Regions from separate parts of the Homo sapiens genome. Here region 2 is linked to region 1. The links are contacts of gene promoters, found by promoter capture Hi-C in human tissues and cell types (Jung and others, 2019). All regions are on one chromosome and are shown on one strand. The core of a region is centred on a gene start or on the middle of the fragment in contact, and the rest is flanking DNA. Distances in the headings are between cores, read along the strand shown.

Evidence for each region. The method cuts DNA at HindIII sites, captures the fragments that hold promoters and counts their contacts. A contact is called where the count stands out against the background at its distance.
Region 2: a fragment that was not itself captured here is called in contact with the fragment with the promoter of ITFG1 in region 1 in 1 of the 25 tissues and cell types used here (hippocampus).

Annotation. Positions count from the first base shown.
Region 1 is chr16:47,458,867-47,462,911 of GRCh38, forward strand. It overlaps ITFG1 (integrin alpha FG-GAP repeat containing 1), which reads right to left and starts at 2,197. Exons shown (of 18, transcript NM_030790.5): 1 at 1,972-2,197; 2 at 237-309. The coding sequence starts at 2,179. It overlaps PHKB (phosphorylase kinase regulatory subunit beta), which reads left to right and starts at 2,465. Exons shown (of 31, transcript NM_000293.3): 1 at 2,465-2,560. The coding sequence starts at 2,485. RefSeq lists a silencer at 2,106-2,575. The HindIII fragment of the contact is 6,431 bases long and covers 149-4,045 here.
Region 2 is chr16:47,138,719-47,142,647 of GRCh38, forward strand. The region is part of intron 1 of NETO2 (neuropilin and tolloid like 2); the gene reads right to left. Among named protein-coding and RNA genes, the nearest start is that of NETO2, 3.3 kb to the right of the region's middle. RefSeq lists silencers at 3,231-3,320, 3,331-3,380. The HindIII fragment of the contact is 7,905 bases long and covers 1-3,929 here.

The DNA.
Region 1 (4,045 bases), core at 947-3,446:
AAGGGTGTTTATATAGAAACAAACCTGGATCCACTCAAATTTATTTCTTTAAAGTCATTTTTAAACTTTGGTATTTTCACTATTTTTCCAAAAAATCACTTGCTACTCATACCTCACAAACAGTGGTTTTGCATCCCAACACTAAGGCTGACTTTAAAGACAACCAATCAGCTACTGCATATCCATTATTATATTAATGACTAAAGTTTTATCAAAATAATCATATTTGTACTTACTTGAAAGATACCTTTACTTTGGGTTTAAAATAGGGTGCATTCTGGTCTGCCAAAAAGACGATTAAGTCATTTCCTAAAGAAAACAAATATATGATATTAGAAAAATGTTTGTTGATAAGATATCTAATCAGTGGTTACAAGAAGGTTTCTGGGCACTGTTCTCAACAAGAAAACTTTTATTCTACTCCAGTTCATCTGCCCTCTCAAGCATAGTCCCACTAGTCCAATGGAGATGCCTAACATTATATCACAAGTTCAATGTTCAAAGTAGCAGAGAAATAGAAAGGATGAACATGGGAAAAAGCAGCTGATCAAGAGAAACTGAAGCCAGTGGATTCTGCGAGGAGTCAGATTGGTTGACTTAAAAGAACCATATAAAGATGCCTTATAACTATACTACATGTCAAGACTTGTCTTCCCCGAATCTAGCAATGCTGTCCCTTGTAAGGCTGTTTGGTTCATTACACAGATGCATCACACCAAGGATGCAGGGACTCCCATTGTAGATATCTGACAAAGACATAATTAAGCATGTGAGCACAAAATGCTGAATCCTCCAAGACCCTCCTCCTATGGGGCCATCCTCCAGAGGGTGACACATTCTTGGAGCTCAATTAGCACTCATTGAGACAGACTTTTGGAATTGTTTAATCAAACACAGGCCATCTTTAAAGTCAAGGCTACTCTCTGTATCCAGTTTGGACACAGCAGCAACAGGTTTGGCAGTACACTGCAAAATGAGGAGTCAAAAAGATTGGGAAAATATTCAGGGTTTGTAAGAGGTTCCTGCATCCCCGCAAGGGCTCCAAGAAGTCTGGTTCAGGATCCTGTCAGGCAAGCTCTGAGTAGCTCTTCCTTCCTTCCTTCACAGCATTGATCTTTAAGCAGCACCTGCTTCTGTAGGTACTCAAGAACCCTAAGACCCCCTAATGCCCACTGTCAGCATCAAGATTTACAAAAAAGTTAGTTTAACGATTGTCAAAGCAAAGAATTTCCAAGAACAAGTTAGCAAAGAAAGTAGACATTTGGAACACTAAGGTGATGACCAAGATGAGGAAGGAGTACACGAAAGAACAGGCAGCTCAAGAGAGAAATTTCTGTAGTTTGAGACTGCTTTCCCAAGGAGGCATTGGGTTTATCAGTGGTCCCTGCAAAATGCTTGTGTGAGCTGTTTAGTGTTTAGGCCCTTGGAAGGGTACATTCGCTTCATAGAAAGTTGTGGCCTTGACAAAGAAAGGGGTGGGCGAATTAGGTAGGTGGGGAGGCAAGAAGAAGCCCCCTATGAGAAGAGATTGTCAGGTTGCACCTTTTCATGTTCATCAACGGGGAAGGAAGACTGAAGCAAAATAGAAAGGAATGAGTGGGCCTTGGGAGCGAACGTTGAGGCAAGCTACAAAGATTCCTAGGAATCAGGAAGCACTTTGGAAAACAGGTGATTCCATGGGGAGGAGGGGGTAAGGTGACTGGGTGAGGGCCGCAGACTTCTTAGGAACAAAACTGAGGTGCTGTCAGGGCTTTTGAGGGTAGGTCAAACTGTAGGGTAGCTGGGTCAGAACCTGGGGTTGGAAAGGGTGGTGCAAAAGGACAAGCTGTTAAGAATGCTAAAGGGAAGGCCACAGGGCTGGGAGAGAAGGACCAGGAAATGCAGAAGGACCGGCCATTGGGCAATGGGTTTGGGGAACACCGGGAGAGGCACACGGACAGCGAACAGAGGGAGGGCCCGGCAAGCACTGACTTTCCCGCAGCACGAAGAGATCCGTCTGCTTGTCGGAGTTGAGGTCCCCGAAAGCCGCAAGGGTGCCCCAGGCCTCGGCCCCAAAGAGCTCGGCCGTGACGTTGTGCAGCGCCCGCGCTGGGACCGGCCCGACTCCCAGTAGTGCAAGCCCTGCGAGGAGCGGCGAGAAGAGGGCCCAGGAGCTCGGGAGCCGGCCCGCCGCCGCCATGGCAGCCCCTCAGCCCCCGCCCGCCGGCCCAACGCCGCGCTTGACGACAGCCGCAAAGCACCGCGTTACCGGCCGAGAGAGTGGCGCGCAGCCCCGGGACGCGTAAGAGCCGCTGCCGGCTCCTTTTTCTCTCTCCCACTAGGGCTGCCCTTCCGACGCTAAAAAAGCAGTGGAGCTAGGGTGAAAGCCGCCCTCACGCTCACTTCCGGCAGGCGCGCCTCCCGACAGTGTCGTGCGGGGGGCGTGGCCCGGCATTGCTGACAGGCGGCCCCGGGGGCGGTGGCCAAGGCGGCGACCGGAGCGCGATGGCGGGGGCGGCGGGACTCACGGCAGAAGTGAGCTGGAAGGTCTTGGAGCGAAGAGCTCGGACCAAGCGCTCAGGTTTGGCTGGCTGGGGCGCCGCCCCCCACCCGAGTACCTTGGGTGGTGCTTCGCCTCAAGCGCCTTGGCGGGAGGCAGGTGGGGGCCCTGGGAATGAACCTGTGCCCCGAGTTCCTCCTTAGAAAGCAGGTGGCGGCCCTGGCCTTGTTTCTAATATCTTCCTCCACCTCTAAAAATTAGGTGGCAGAGCCAGCTCCACTCTGCGTGTGCCCCCGACTCTATTCCGCTTGTGAGCCCCACTCGGAAAGTAGGCAGCGGTCCGGACTTCCCTTAGAGTCTTCTAACTTAAAAATCGGGCGGCGGCACATTCCTGGGAAAGGGAATGTGTCTTCCCTGTGAATGTGTCTTTCCTGTGAATGTTCTCTGCAAAAGTCAGATAGCTTAATCAGACCAAGTCAGATGTAACTACGATCTGGCTGCAGAAAGCCGGCGTCTGGGCTCCTTGCTTTATGTCTTATATCCCTTTTACATTCCCCACAGGTTCTAAGCAGTAGACCTGTCATCTATCTAGCAGAAACTGAAGGAGACTGGGCCTCAGATATTGAAGAGTATAGTTAGGGCCCAGAAAGAAAAGGGCTTCTTAAGTGGCCCCAGGTTGTGTGGTTTCCAAACCCGAAAGCATAGAGGTCAGAAGGTGCCTTGCAGGCAGTTTTAACAGTTCCAAGTGTCCCGAACTGACTTGTTCAAATTGCAACGTCATGACTTGTGGCGTTATTAAAACTTCCTGTATTCCTGGTTGGCTGGATATAATCTTGAACAAAAGGCATGCACTTAAACAGGAAAGGTGAAAGGCGGAATGCAGGTTTTCAGCTAAGGAGCTTCCCTTTTAAAGAATTGATGAAGTGTCATTATTGGGGGTGGGTGTGAAAGGTGTTAGCTAGGAAAATTAACTTTGCACTTGCATTGATATTAAGAAATTATTTTCGGACGGGCGCGGTGGCTCACGCCTGTAATCCCAGCACTTTGGGAGGCCGAGGCGGGCGGATCACCTGAGGTCAGGAGTTCGAGACCAGCCTGGCCAACCTGGTAAAACCCCATCTCTACTAAAAATACAAAAATTACCTGGGCGTGGTGGCGGGCGCCTGTAACCCCAGCTACTCGGGAGTCTGAGGCAGAAGAATTGCTTGAACCTGGGAGGCGGAGGCTGCAGTGAGTGGAGGTCGCACCACTGCACTCCAGCGTGGGCGACAGAGTGAGACTCCGTCTCAAAAAAAAAAAAAATTATTTTCTCACCTAATATGTTCTCCTTACGTTTTGGGCTTTTCCTATTTATGAAGTTCTTAGTTGTCTGTTGTGCACACTGACTTTTTTTTTTTTTTTTTTGGAGAAAGTAAATCTAATTTCTGAAAATCTAATTTCAGAAATCATACACCGAACACTCTGTTTTTTTATACCTTACAAAAAGTTCAGCTTTATATACTTAGGGTTATAGTAAAATTACCATCTATGAAGTATGAGATAATTTTTTCAAAAAGTAGTCCTTAG
Region 2 (3,929 bases), core at 21-2,520, 320 kb before region 1:
TCAGATCACATCACAGCCTTGCTTAAAATCTTCCAGTAGAGTCCCATTATAGTTAGAACAACTCTGTGCCCCTTACTCTGACTTCGGAGGTACTATGTGACCTGGAGCCTGCGTGTCTCTCTGGCCTTCCGAGCGCTCTCTACTAGAACACAGGCCGCCTTCCCATCACTCAAAACACATCAAGCTAATTCTTGCCTCAGGAACCAGCTGTGCCTTCGGCCTAGAATCTCTTTGGCTGATTCCTTCCTGTTGTTCAGGTCTTGTGAGGCTTTCCCAATTTCTAAATAAGCGCTACATTTTCTCCTTCATTTTGCTTTACTTCATTATTATATTACCTGGTATTTTGAGTCTTGTTGGTTGTCTGTCTCTTCTCACTAGAAAGAAGGGCCTTGTCTGTCTGATTCACTGATGCATCTCCACAGCCTAAAAGACTGTCTGGCCTCAACAGTATTCAATACAGACACGATGAACACATGGGGGTGACTGAGCGCGACTCCAGTGCATCTTCTTTGTAACCGCAAACACATAGCACAGTAACTGACAGGCACACATCTTGGATGAACAAACAGTAGCCACACATGTGACCTTGCTTTTTTAAATGCGAGCACAAATCAGGGGATGGGAAAAGAACTGAGATTCCCCCCCACCCTCCTGAGATACCCTGCCACCACTGTTATTTTCCTCAAGCTGGCTCAATTTACCTTTGTTAGTAATTAAGTGTGTCTCTTTCTACATCTTCCTGTGTTAAGCAACTCAGTGGTAAACATAAAGCTTTTAAAATCCAACACAGAGAACCACCTACCTGGTCTCTCTGCTCATTACCATTTCCTATAATGACAGCAGAACAGAGTTCAATTAGAGTCCACATACTATTTGACATGGCAGTCACTTGTTTTTGATAAACTATGTTCCAAAGAACAAAAAAAGTACCCAAATTTAATCAAACTCAATCATACTTTACTAGTTAAGAACAAAGATGGATGGTGAACTTTGGGATCACTCCAGCCTACATATGCTAATGACATGCCAATCACTTTAGTAAGAAAGAGTAACTCTATAGCAGAAGTGCTTTCTCTTTCCTGCAGAATGTGACAAACTCCTCCTTAGTCGAGCTGATCTGAGATGGCGCTTTTGTAAGCTGTATTTTAATTACACATCAGTCCTCCTGACTGTACAGTGACTACCATCACCTTCTAACATGATCAGGTCATATTTGAAAGACTACTTGGTATCTTCTAGTGCTGTAATTTCCAATGTTACTCCAGGCATATTTAAACCAACATGTCTTAATGTCATTTTGATTAGAAAGGACTGAACTTTCAGATTAGTATACCCTGTAATTTTGGAAGCAATATAACAAACCCGTTGAAGTGTCAGTTCTTGGAGCCACCCTGGTGTTTGAGGTGACTGAGAGGGCAAGGCCTCCCACCAATCACAGCAACTCTGTTCTGTTGTCCTTTTTCCTTTTTTTTTCAAGTGCTTCCTCACAAAAGTTCCTCTGAAGTTTGGAAACCATTGGATTAGACCACCTCTTAAGATGCTCCTTTCCAACTCAAAGATCATAATAATTTCAATCTCCAGTGCCTCAGGGAGACGTATTTCTAAGTATAAATAATTATTCTACAGGAGCGTAAGTTGAAAAATGATAGGAGATTGTGCTGGATGGGTGGTACCCCAAGAGAAGGAGGTAGTCTATTGTTTTAAAATTTCAGATATGAACTTTATTTCTAGTCTATCATTTTTCTATCTTTTCTAAAAAGGACTGAAAATGGCTTTGATTTCAACTTGTTTTGTCATGCAGGGTTTTTCCTAAATAGTGATTTTAATTTCAAAATGAAAGATAAACCAGATTGCAGTTGAGGATTTACTACAAAAAAACCATTATTTAATAAGACTTTTCAATTGACAGTGTTAAAACAGTTTTTCCCAACCCCTGGAAGGAAAAGCCAAAAAGTTGATTTTTAATAAGGCTTTAGTATTAAAGGACAAGTTTTTCAGTACCACACTTATTTCTGTATAACTAGTTTATAGTCCTGGGTGAAATGTAAGAATGAAAAACGAGTTAATACTTGCACCGTCTCAGACAAGATTTTTAAATACAGTGCCAAGGAATATTTTTGCTGTTACATTACAAATTTAACCAGTTTCTACAGCTTGAAATATTGCTGAGTCGAACAGATTCTCCTGAAGCAAGTGTGCAGAATAAGAACAAAAAATGGATTTATAATCCTCATGTAATATTTTCATGAGACTATAATGCTTAGTTAACCTTGACAGAAGATTAACTCGAATTCTGTGAGGCCTAGAGTGATCACAGCTAAAAGTGAATTTTTTAGTTTCAACAACATAGGAAAGGTTTAAAAGCCTAGTAAGGTTATTCTTTTGTCTTAATGGCTGAAAGTAAAACAAGAATAATCAGTGGCATCTTAAAGAACTAAAATTACTTTCTACTTAAAATCTCACACACTCATTATGGCTGATTTATTTTAGTAGAAACTGACCATAATATTTCAAACAAGGCTTCTGTGGGTAATATCCACAATTATGTAAATGTTAAATAGCTGCTTCAGATAAGAACCTCTTTGATGTTAAAGCAATTCACTTTATAGGATAAAAGGAAAACTTCTTCATGCCTTGGGGCACACAATGAGTAGTTTGTAATGGGAAAGGCCAGTATCTTTTTAAAGGCAACTTTTTAAAATTAAAATATTGATTTTTAAATAAATTATACATGCGTTTGGTAAAAAAAAAAAACAAAAACAAAATCAAGTGATACAAATGGGTGTGCAGTGAAACCAGTCTTCCCTTCATTCCTGTCTTTTAATCCCCTAGATTTCCGTATTAGAATCAACTACTGTTAACAATTTATTGAATCTTTCCAGACCAGTTATTGGCATTTACAAGTTGATACCACAGACGACTTTAAAAATAACTTGCTTTCTCTCTAGGAAGCCGCCACCAATAGCAGCAACAACAATAATAATTCAGCTTGAGCTTTAAAAATACTCCAGCATGTAAAAATAGTGTAGGCTAACACTGAAAAAAGAAAAGCCAGACACTATATTGTTTTCACCGTAGCTCTGCCATCACCAGAATCCTTTCCTGAAAGGTACAACACTCAACGCTTCACCACGATGGCCAGAGAGGGCAGTGTGCACCCACGGGAAAGGCAAAGGCAGAAACGCTGCAAATCCCTTCACCATTGGAGGAGGCGCTACCAGCCCCTACCCTATCCAGCTCGATTTTATCAAGTTCTGCAGGTAAAGCGGTGTGACAGATCTACGCGATTTCATCCGGGGGTGCTCTCGGATGCACGGTCAGTAGCATGCTGACAACCTTACCGTAGTGAGGGCGCAATCCGACAACGGCAGAAAATTCAGATAAGCAACACGATCAGAAATCCTAGTGTGCATACGGTTTATCACGAAAGAGTAAAAACATTCCTTTCCCAGGAATGACTGTAAAAATTAGGAGTTAGAGATATGAAAGCCACAGGATGAATTTCAGAGTTGTTTTCAATTGTAATAAAGAAATCACTACGGATTTACGGTTTGTGAAATATTCATCAGCTAGAAAGTCCTAGGTTACCTTAGTACAAGCTGTAGATACGTTTACAGTGGGGTAGTTAAACGTTTCGAATTACTGAAATCTCAATTACGAATTTAGGAATATGTGGAGAGTAGACAATGTGTCCAATTAAAATCAAAAGCAAAATTACACTGAACTTTCTAATAAAACAAATTTGAAAAAAGTGCTGTTAGGGAGCAGGAAAAAAGTCACTCTACAAATATTAAGATACAGTGCTGAGTTATACATAACACCGTTAATAATGCCTCAGCCGTACCCTCGAAATTTTTAAAAAAAGAACATGTTACGACATTACAAACACGTCAGCTTTCAATTTAAATCAGCAGGGGGAAAAAGGGAAG